Linked DNA regions of Homo sapiens: regions 2 and 3 are each linked to region 1. The links are contacts of gene promoters, found by promoter capture Hi-C in blood cells and fetal thymus (Javierre and others, 2016). All regions are on one chromosome and are shown on one strand. The core of a region is centred on a gene start or on the middle of the fragment in contact, and the rest is flanking DNA. Distances in the headings are between cores, read along the strand shown. Region 1 holds the start of TRIM6 (tripartite motif containing 6). Region 2 holds the start of OR56B4 (olfactory receptor family 56 subfamily B member 4). Region 3 overlaps OR52E5 (olfactory receptor family 52 subfamily E member 5).

What was found. The method cuts DNA at HindIII sites, captures the fragments that hold promoters and counts their contacts. A CHiCAGO score of 5 or more calls a contact.
Region 2: a contact is called between the fragment with the promoter of OR56B4 here and the fragment with the promoter of TRIM6 in region 1, in 2 of 17 cell types (neutrophils and total CD8 T cells). The highest score is 8.8, in neutrophils.
Region 3: a fragment that was not itself captured here is called in contact with the fragment with the promoter of TRIM6 in region 1 in 1 of 17 cell types (megakaryocytes); the score reaches 7.6 in megakaryocytes.

Annotation. Positions count from the first base shown.
Region 1 is chr11:5,594,945-5,598,590 of GRCh38, reverse strand. TRIM6 (tripartite motif containing 6) reads right to left here and starts at 1,954. Exons shown (of 8, transcript NM_001003818.3): 1 at 1,677-1,954. The coding sequence starts at 1,693. It overlaps TRIM6-TRIM34 (TRIM6-TRIM34 readthrough), which reads right to left and starts at 1,954. Exons shown (of 14, transcript NM_001003819.4): 1 at 1,677-1,954. The coding sequence starts at 1,693. It also overlaps a transcript of TRIM5 not described here. RefSeq lists enhancers at 1,970-2,019, 1,266-2,183, 2,338-2,632. The HindIII fragment of the contact is 2,426 bases long and covers 838-3,263 here.
Region 2 is chr11:6,105,782-6,109,427 of GRCh38, reverse strand. OR56B4 (olfactory receptor family 56 subfamily B member 4) reads right to left here and starts at 1,744. Exons shown (of 1, transcript NM_001005181.2): 1 at 593-1,744. The coding sequence starts at 1,649. The coding sequence ends at 690. All of the region lies in intron 2 of LOC124902622 (a long non-coding RNA gene), which reads left to right. The HindIII fragment of the contact is 4,106 bases long and covers 1,219-3,646 here.
Region 3 is chr11:5,899,960-5,903,605 of GRCh38, reverse strand. OR52E5 (olfactory receptor family 52 subfamily E member 5) reads right to left here. Exons shown (of 3, transcript NM_001005166.5): 3 at 876-2,974. The coding sequence starts at 2,829. The coding sequence ends at 1,846. All of the region lies in intron 2 of LOC112268071 (a long non-coding RNA gene), which reads left to right. Among named protein-coding and RNA genes, the nearest start is that of OR52E5, 8.6 kb to the right of the region's middle. The HindIII fragment of the contact is 580 bases long and covers 1,323-1,902 here.

The DNA of each region.
Region 1 (3,646 bases), core at 705-3,204:
TGTTGATCACATGTCCTAATTGTATTTTGCATGTATTGGGTTAAATGAAATGTATTAAAATTAATTTCACCCGCTTATTTTTAATGAGGCTACTTGAGTATGTAACATTACATATGTGGCTTCATTCTATTTCTAGTTCATTATATGTCTTTTTCCTATCTAATATGCGCTGTAGATATTCATCTAATACTCTCTTTAGACAGAGAAAAATTCTTGAGCAGAAAAAAGATTTGTAAGAGTTGAGGTCTCTTGTCAAAGCTGAGGCTTGGGAAAGAAATTGTGAAGGAGGGGAGCATACAGTTAGCATAGGTGACCCTTGCCCACACACCAGCAAGCCCTGACTGCCCACTGCAGCTAAGTGCAGCCCAAGGGAGATATGGGAGGCTGCCAGTTTCCAACTGAGGCCAAGTCTCCAGAGCAGTGTGGACGGGCTGAGAGAAGGCATTCTGACTGTGAGGAGTGCAGACGAGAAGAGCCTGCAGTCCCAGAGCCCAGTGCATCAAATTAGCAGAAGAAAGAGCCCAAATTCACAACCAGGTGGGACCAATTAAATCAGAACCAGACGCCTGAAAAAGGTCTGCTAACTAGCAACACTGCAAGCACTTGGAGTTCTTTATGCAGAATCTCAGTCTTTCCTGGAATGATTCAGAATCTGCACTTTAATATTAAAGTTCTCTAGGTGATTCTTACGCACATTAAGGCTTCAGAAGCACTGCCTTAGATAAAGGACCTTCTTTCCCAGGTGGATACAATTTAGGGTGCAAAACAGCTAGAAGAGGGAGGGGGACAGAGAATGGCCTGCTATTTAGATACGAAGCATCTTTTAGAATGGAAGCTTGCATCGATATCAAAATGGCTTTCAGAATAAAAATCAGTGACTCAGCAGGGGATACTGGGGCTGGTGTAGGCTGGGGGTTCAGAGTTAGGAATGACAGAGCGGGCCCGTCCACCAGCTGGGAGCCCTAGTGAAAGTGGAATAAAATAGGTGGCAGTTGCATTTATAAGTGAGTTGGGCATGAGTTCTTGCACTTTAGGAATAACATTTTTTTTTATCTTTGTGTAGGGTTATATTTAACCTATTATCTGCAATTGATTATCTAACAGGACTCAATAAATATTTGAATTGGAACATAATCAGTTTCAAAACAAAAAATTTAATTTCCACTTCAAAAGAATTTCTACCCCCTGCATTTCAGAAACCTATAATTTAAAAATTGTTTTGATTGTGCATTTTTTTAAAGCTAGGCATGGAGTTTGCCAGTAATAATGACCATAATTTGTGTCAGGCAGCCTCCTACGTGTTTAAATCTGTCTCACTCAATCCTCACCAAAACTCTAAGATATACATATTACTCCGTCCATCTTATAGATGGAAGAAACTAAAGCTCAAAGAAGTCAAGTTAACAGTCTTCGGGCACACAGCCAGTGTCTGTCAGAGTCAGGATTTGAACACATGCAGTCTGGCTGCGGCATCTATGCTCCTAACCACACATTTCTGTCTCTATTGACTGACTGATTAAAATGTCTCTAACCTCAGTGGGGTCATTTGCAGTGAGAAAGAAAAAGAAATAAAGATATAATGAGTTCCGAAAGGGAAAGGACCTTATCTCTTTCACTGCCCTGTCACCTCTGCCAGAAGTGACAATAAGAGCCAGTCAACAGAACGGTAGACATACCTCTCTGACCCGCACATCTGGGGAATGAGAAGCCAAGAAGTTCCAGATGTAAGCAATATCAGGTGGTCAAAGCTCTTCAGAGCAATCCAAGGCACCTTAAACTAATCTTAAGGAACAGAGCGCGCTCACTCGGCTTTTATCTAAACTCAACCACGCACGACTCTGCTCCGTTCCGTTCCGAGAAAGGCAGGGGATCCCTCCTCCGCCAGCCTTTGGCCGTTGAACGGACGGACCCACAGGTCAGGAGTTTGCGGAAGGCTCATCTCCCAACTCCTTCTGGGAGGAGTCGGGCCGCCTGGGGTGGGGGATAAACGGTGCTCACTTCCTGGAGCGGCCAGGCTGGAGATGGGGGAGGGGAAGGGGGAAGGGGGAAGGGGGAAGGGGGAAGGGGGGAAGGGGAGAACGGGGGAAGGGGGGAAGGGATGCTGACTCTGAATCCACGCCTGACAAAATGGTTTGCAGTGATTCCCTAAAGCAGTTTCCAGAGCTGCCTCCTCTACATACTTCAGCTTGTAGAATAGAGGTTTAACTCTCTTTACACGGCCTATTCCCAGCTGCAAAGGTGCCTCTTCTGTGCTCCCTTCCCAAACTTGAGTTCACTTGAAAATGCAGAAGTCTCCCTCATTCTTCTTTCACCCGTGAACCACCCCCAACCCGACCTGCAGAGCGGGTCAAACTCTCCAGACAAGTGGGGACAGCGGTAGCTGGCCAGAAAATAAACTTGCTCACTAACCTGGAATCTGTGGCCTGGATCAGAGCCAAGGACTTGAAGCAGCCGCGTCCTCCACCCAGGCCGAAAGACTCAGGGGGGAAGGGGCGGGGCCTGGGGAGGAGGAGGGTCAAATTGTCCAGCCCCGCAGGAGATCCAGCCGATTCCATGGGTGTGGTCACCAGTGACCCCTCAGGTGGTAAGGGAGATGGAGATGGTTTCTGAGGCCAGGCGCGGTGGTTCACCCCTGTAATCCCAGCACTTTGGGAGGCCGAGGCGGGCGGATAACGAGGTCAGGAGATTGAGACCATCCCGGCCAACATGATGAAACCCTGTCTCTACTAAAAATACAGAAATTAGCTGGGCGCGCCTGTGGTCCTAGCTACTCGGGAGGCTGAGGCAGGAGAATCGCTTGAACCCGGGAGGTGGAGGTTGCACTCCAGCCTGGAGACAGAGCGAGACTCTCTCTCAAAAAAAAAAAAAAAGAATTTTTGAAGGTAGCAACGCAAAGCTGTTCATCTTACCTGATGAACGGCAAATCCGGAGGCCTTTGAGAACACCAGGCCAGAGATGACCCTTGTAAATTGTCTGCAGTGTACTGTAGCTTTCTAATATCATATCAGAGTTTAATTACACTGATAATACACCTGTACTCCATATAGACGTATTAATTAAAATGTCTAAATAAACATATAAAGTTATACGAGTAAAAGCCCCTTTGCATAATGGCATGTTTTGCCAAACGATCATTAAAATTCATCAGTTTAAAATTACACGTATGTATGTATAAAGCTGTGTGTGTGTATCTGTAATTTTGACCTATATAACTAGAAGACAATCTTTGTTTTTATTTAGGTCTGATGAATACATGTAAAGCTTATTGAGCCTCAGAACTCTAACTACAGGGTTTCAATAGCACAGAAACTCTGAGAAGAAAAAGAATGTCAAAGTTCCTCCCTAAGGAGACTGATTAGGTGAGTATCACCTTGCCTTAGAAGGTGGCTTGGGGAGGGAGGTATAGAGAGAGAAGGGACTGGGGTGTCCATACAAAAGTCTGGACGGAGGATTGGGCAGTAGGGAGAGAGCTGGGTTAAGTATCAAGAGATTTCTCTGGACAGTCCCCAGGCAAATGAAAGGTCATTGGAATCTCGTAAGTGCAGACATGTGTCACTATTTCAGTGACTACCTCATGTCTGCAGGCTTAAGAAGCCACGCAAAGGTTATTTCAGATCACCCTTTGTGTAGCTTTCTTCACAACGGT
Region 2 (3,646 bases), core at 495-2,994, 510 kb before region 1:
AAGGGTTATTGTGAGAATTGAGTCAGATAATCTACATACATATTTTATCAAAGTTTCTGGCCTACAAGAAGTATTTAACACTTGTTAACCATTAATTCATTAATTATTGAGATTTTTTTGGGTACGAAAATTAAACTTTACTCCTTTTTAATAAACATTTATTGTTTACTTTTTATTATAAAAATTACATATGAAAAGCACATAAATATGTAAGAGTTAAATATGTGTAAATATTAAAGGCTTTGTTTTCTATTATTAGTCATATTATAATGATTTTTATGAATAACTTTTTGACTGCATTTAGACTATTTCTTTTGGATATTTTTCTAAAATAGAATTACTGGTTAAGAACATTTAAACATTTATAAACATTTTGATAAATTTTACCAAATTGCTTTTTGGTGTGTTTATAGTCCTACCAGTTGTGTAGGAAAGTGTTAATCTCGGGGTAGGCTAGCAGTAATAGTTAGAAACATTTCACTTTTTTGTTCTTACTTATTTTCCAGGTAATAGGAAATTTTCTTGTAATTTTAATATACATATTTTGATTAGTGAGGCTGACAGTTTTCATGATTTTATTGGCCATTTTTTTCCTAGGGAGTGTGGTAAGTGCAGATTATAACCCTGATCTATTGAGAACTAAAACCTCTGTCATTTCCTAACATCTTACTGGATTCCTAAAGCTGGAGTTACTTGGACACGTCCTGACCCAGTCCAAGCAGTCTCTGAAAGCCCAGTCTGAGTTTGTGCATCCTGAGTGCACAGGCCAGGGGGTTGAGTGCAGGGGGGATGACATTGTGCAGCACATTAAGGAACACAGGAATAAGGGGAATCTTTTTCTCTGCAAGGTGTGTGACAGACAGCACAATGATACCTGTGTGGAAGAGGATGAGGATGAGGTGGGAGCTACAAGTGCTCAGAGCCTTGGACATTGCTTCTGCTGAGTTCAGCCTCAGCACAGAGTGAAGGATTACAGCATAGGAAGAAAATACCAGAGCCATATCACTCCCAACCAAGACCCATGCTAGCATCAGTTGGTAAAATTTGTTCACAGTGATGTCATCACAAGCCAGGCTGATAACCCCCAAGTTAGAGCAGAGGCAGTGCTCGATTTCATTCCTGGAACAGTAGTGTCTCTGGGCAGCCAGTATAGGCACTGGGATGGTCAACAGGCCATTCCTGAGCATGATGAACCCTGTGGCTTTGAAGACAAAAGCTTTAGTGACTATGGAGGGGTACTGAAGAGGGCGACAGATGGCTATGTATCTGTCTACTGCCATGCAGAGAAAGATGCCTGACTCTATGCAGAAGAAGCAGTGGATGGCATAGATCTGAGCAAAACACATGGGGAGGCTAATGGCCTTGGCATCAAACCAGAAGATGGCCAGGATCTTGGGCATGATGGTGGTGGCCAGGCCAATGTCCACCACTGCTAATATGCCCAGCAAATGGTACATGGGTTCATGTAGCACGGTCTCATGTTGAATGGTGATTATGATGAGGAGATTGGCACCAAGAGCTAAGAGGTAGAGCAGAGTCAGGGGCAGGGAGAGCCAGTGCTGCCACTCATGAATGCCTGGTAATCCCATCAGGATGAACTGGGAAATCTGGAGGCTGGAGTCATAGGTAACACTGGTGGAGGTATCCATGGAATGGGTGCCTCAGTCTCAGTGTCTGTCTGAAATAGAAGAAATCTCTGTTTAAAAGTTCAGCTAAGGGGCTGAGCATCGTGGTTCATGCCTGTAATCCCAGCACTTTGGGAGGCTGAGACAGGCAGATAATTTGAGGTCAGGAGCTCGAGACTGACCTGGCTAACATGGCAAAATCTCATCTCTGCGGAGAATACAAAAATTAGCTGGGTGTGGTGGTGCCTGTCTGTAATCCCAGCTACTTGGGAGGCTGAGGCATGAGAATCATTGAACCTGGGAGGCGGAGGTTGCCGTGAGCCGAGATTGTGCCACTGCACCCCAGCCTGGACAACAGAGTGAGACCCTGTCTTAAAAAACAAAACAAAACAAAAAGTTAAGTGTCTTGGTAAGAGCTCCTCAATAATGAACCAGCTCCTTTTATTCATGAATGACCCTCAACTTTATTTGACTTCTGGAAATATTCCACAGAGGAATAACAAAAAAAGCAAAAAAATTCTAAACAGAAGAGTTGGAATAACTATTTTTCATCACCACTTGTATGTCTAATAAGCATGTCCACATATATTAACAACAGTCTTATCACTAACAGATAACAAATGTTAGTATTTGATTTATTTCCAATTTTCTATTTTATTTTTAAACAGTCTACATCATTATCTAGAGATGATTTTGTATCTTGTTTTTGTCTTTTAGCAGTATGTGTTAAGATGTAATATAAGCACTCAAAAATTTTATTTCATGGATGAATACATTAACCAAAGACTTCACAATATTATTTAAAAAGTGTGATGTTAATTTTAATTGCTGCTTTAAATTTTTGCATTTGGCTATTCTATAATTTACTGACAGGTATTTTGCTTTTAATATTGTTTTCCTTGAGTAGAGTTTCAAAAGTGATGCAAAAATTATATATACAAAGGATATAATAGTCTTAAAATTTTAAATATAATTTTGATTTTATTTTAAGATATATTATCTATACATGGTAAAAATCAAAATAAAATGAAAAATATAAACAATGAAAAGTAAGACTCTCATGCTTGGGGCTTTGAAATCTTTTTCCTTTTCACTAGAGGCAGCCAGTAATATGTTTCTTGGGAATCCTTCCATTAATAGTTTATGCATGGATAAAAACATATATATATATATATATATATATATATAATTTTCATAAAAGACATAATCAATTGTTAGCACACCTTTCTCCTTTTTTCTTTCCTTTTCTTTTTTAACTTAATATTTTGAAGACTGCTCCATATTTCCATACTGCAGTTAAGTTGCATTATTTTCTACCACCTAGATGCCCTATAGTTTAATGATTTTTTTTTGTATTTTTAGAATTGATATATCATATTTGTAGATATTTTGGAGGTACATGTGATATTTTGATACATGTATACAATGTGTAATGATCGAATCAGTGTAATTAGGATATCCATCACCTCAAGCATTTATCTTTTCTTTGTGTTAGGAACATTGCAATTCTCTTTTAGCGATTTTGAAACATACAGTAAATTATTAACTATAATTTTCCTACTGTGCTATTGAATACTAGAACTTATTTCTTCCACCTAACTGTATTTTTGTCCCCATCAGCCACCCTCTATTCTTCCCCTACCCCCACCCTTTCCGGCCTCTGGTAACCACCATTCTATTCATTACTTCTGTGAGATCCACTTTTTTTCTTTTTCCGGCTCACTGCAAACTCCACCTCCCAGGTTCAAGCGATTCTCCTGCCTCAGCCTCCCGAGTAGCTGGGATTACAGGTGTGTGCCACCACACCCGGCTAATTTTTGTATTTTTAGTAGAGATGGGGTTTCACCATGTTGGCGAGGCTGGTCTCAAACTCCTGACCTCAGGTGATCTGCCTGCCTTGGCCTCCCAAAGTGCTGGGATTACAGGCGTGAGCCACCGTGCCCAGCTGAGATCCACTTTTTAAGCTCCCAAACATGTGTAGGAACATGTAATATTTGTCTTTCTCTACTTGATTTATTTCA
Region 3 (3,646 bases), core at 363-2,862, 310 kb before region 1:
CAAGATGACCAATATTCAGTGTTTACCATAGCATTTGGCATAGCTCAGCCGACCTGCTCCAAGACTTGCAGTATTGATGGCTTTGTACAAATTCAGTTAAAAAAAAAAAAAACTCTAGAGCTTGATAAACTCCCTAAACAACTTTCCTTTCTTGGGAATTCTATGTGCACACTGTGCTGTTTTCAAATATGCTCCTGGCTCCCATGTTACAGCCCCTGGAACATATACTTGGTAATGAATGGGGTTTTCTCTTCTGTATTAGCTTCTATGCTCCTTAGAAATTAAAGTTCTCTGTTACCCATTTCCATTCAGATTACTCACTTTCTGGAGCACGTGACATTTAGCAAAGTCTCAGAAATGATACAGGAAAACTCTTAGTCGAAGTTCTTAACGTATGATACCAAAATTAAGTGGTCTGGTGGTTTAACATATTTTGGGTAGAGTGAACAAAATTGAACATATTAGAGCCTTTAAATATACAAATGTAAATATTCAGGCTCTAAAATGAGATTTTCGTAGTTGAAATATTATATAATAATACATTAAATAAACTATAATTGAAAAGTGGTATTTTACTTAGAAGACACTCCACAATGAATTTTTTGTCATCTTTATTCCTTGTTAAATGATCTGTTTAGTTTTTTTTAAATTCTGTATCAATTTCAAAATATCTACTTAGAAAATGATTACTTGGTTACTTTTTCTTTATATATTTATATGACATATCACTTCAGTTTACTTCCACTTGTCAATTTATACTGTTATTTATATTGTTATTACTTTCGCACTATTCTCTGTACATTTCTGCTCATTCTACCTTGAGTTTCAATCAGGGCTCCATTTCCAATTAGGAGCCAACTTCACATTTTTGCAGCTCCTAGAATACCCAAAGAAATAAATTGTCCTATTTATCTTCTATACCTTATTAAGAATGACTTTATATTATTTCAGCAGCCACACTATTACAGTCTGCCCTAAAACCCACTCTAGCAAAGACTGTGGAGGATGGGATTTCCCTGAGTCCTTAAGCCCAAGACAGAAACCTGTTAACTCTTCAAGCTTTATAGTCTCCTGACTGAAAGTCTCTTTCACGAAGGTAAGAGCTGAGAGGTCCATGAAGAGGCCCATGCGTTGGGATAATCTGGATCTGGAGAGCTGACCTCAAACCAGGGATTGTATACTAGAGTGGATTAGTAAATGAAATCTACATACATTAGAAATAACAATTACACTATAATTATGTTTAGTAAGCACTCATTTTGTTTCCAAATCTTTTAATGTTTTACAAGCTGCACAGATTTTCACAACATTCACTTTAAGCTTCAATATCCCTGCTCATAAAATGCTATAAATCAGTATGAATTTGTTATTGTGAACTCAAAGAGTCTAAGTGAAATGCTCAGGTCAAAATTTTAGGTAAGGCCATAACCTGTATTTAAATCTAGATCTTATGACTCCTAGTTAATTTCTCTTGCCACTGTATCCTGCCTGGTTTTGATGAAATACCACATCATTTTAATCGTCATGAACTTCAGCTTTGGATATGTAAATACAGAGAATCTTCATGTGGAAAGGCTATTCAAGACAATTACTGGGCAATAACTTTTACAAAGCCTTTGTTTCTCTTTAGGCATTTTGTAGTATCATGGGGCTTAAGTGTGAGTACTTTTTGCACTTTTAATGGGTGAAACAGAGAGATTGTTTTGGAATCTTTGAGCTATAACTTCCAACAGACCGTACTGAAATCATGAGACGTTGTAGGGGATATAATGCTATTGGCTCATGTGGGAATGCAAGAGAAGTAGTAAAAAAAATGTTTCCAGTGTTTATTTTGTTATGATCTCATTATTGTCTAACTGAATTGTTGTGGAAGATCCTCTTGGGGTCAAAATGCCAAAAGCTTTTAGGGTTGAGTATCCTAAGTACCTGCTCTCGTATCTGTTTTGTTTTGACCCCATAGATAACAGAGTTAAGAGCAGGGGGAAAAACCACATACAGATTGGCCAGAAGAATGTGGATGTAATGAGGGATGTTGTGGCCAAAGCGGTGTGTCATGAAGGAAAAGAGGGCTGGCAGGTAGAAAGCCAACATAACACAGACGTGAGAGCCACATGTGCTGAGTGCCTTAGGCCGGGCATCCCAGGCTGGGAGATGGAAGACAGCTCGGAGGATCTGGACATAGGAAAATCCAATCACAGAAATGTCAATGTATCCCACTGAGAAGGCAATCAATCCATATATAACATTAATACTGGCACAAGCTAACTTTGCCAAGCCCATGTGTTCACAATAGGTATGAGGGATAATCCGGACACCACAGAAAGGCAATCTCAGGATGAGAAATGTGAATGGAGTCACAAATACCAAAGTCCTGACAATGATGACTATGCCCAGAATGGCTATTACCTTGTTGGTAAGGATCATGCTATATCTCAGGGGGTTGCAGATGGCAATATAGCGATCTATGCCCGTGACTGTCAGTACCACAGACTCCAGGCCAGTGCATATATGAATGGTATACATCTGTGTGATGCAGGCACCAAATGCAATCTCTCCAAGATTAAACCAGAAAATTCCCAGCATCTTGGGGATGGTTGCTGTAGACAAGCCCAGATCAGTGCCGGCCAACATGGCTAGGAAGTAAAACATGGGTTGGTGGAGGCTCTGTTCAGTCTGTATCACAAACAGGATAATGATGTTCCCTAGAAGGGCTGTTAGATACACTGCAAAGAAGGGGAAGCCAATCCATACATGCACATCTTCCAGCCCTGGGACCCCCACTACGAGGAAGGTGGAAGGGTGAAACTGTGTATTGTTGGTATGAAGCATATTGGTGGCCATTCCCTACAGACACATTTCTTGCATGAGTTTTCTTGCTTCCAGTGAGAAACCATAACTTCTTTCACAGCATGGTGTCTATTTCTTGGGGAAACAGAAAATCCATTCTTTAACTCCATAATATAGCATAAGAGACCTAGAGAGGGAATATGAAATATAGTTAAAAAGACACTCTCACTTTTAAATATTTGCCTCACTTACACAGGAAACCATGCAGAAAGTTTCCAAAATATAGCAATCCTGCACTTCCCATGTCTTTCCTCCCTTCAGTCTCTAAGAAAAAACTTCCATATGGCATTAAATTAGCATATATTTATTGCTAATTATACTTGTTAATCAGGATGTAAAGAGTAGCCAAGGTGAAGTGTGTGTGTGTGTGTGTGTGTGTGTGTAAAATGTCACTGGACTGAGATTGAGGAGGAAAATGATAAGAGGAATGATACATTCTTGCAAATTAGATCTGAGAAATTAAGAATATTCTCTGTGAGAGGAGACTCAGTAAAGGTGGAGGATTGGTTAGTTGGTGTTTGGATTTGAGATAATAAATAAAATTTTTAAATTTAGATACATAGGGTAACTATTGCATAATTCCAGAAAAACAATGCTCCCTCTTACAACTTCAAAGGCCCTTCACTATATTATGTTTTCTTTCCTGAATAGAAAACACTGGATGCTCTCAGATACTTTGCAGTGCCTTTTGTGATTTATGATCTTTTCTGTCTTCTCCATTTCGCATTATATAAATGGGCAATCGCTTCATAATGCCACCTAGATAGTGGCAGTGTAATTGTCTCTATCTTTTTAAAAG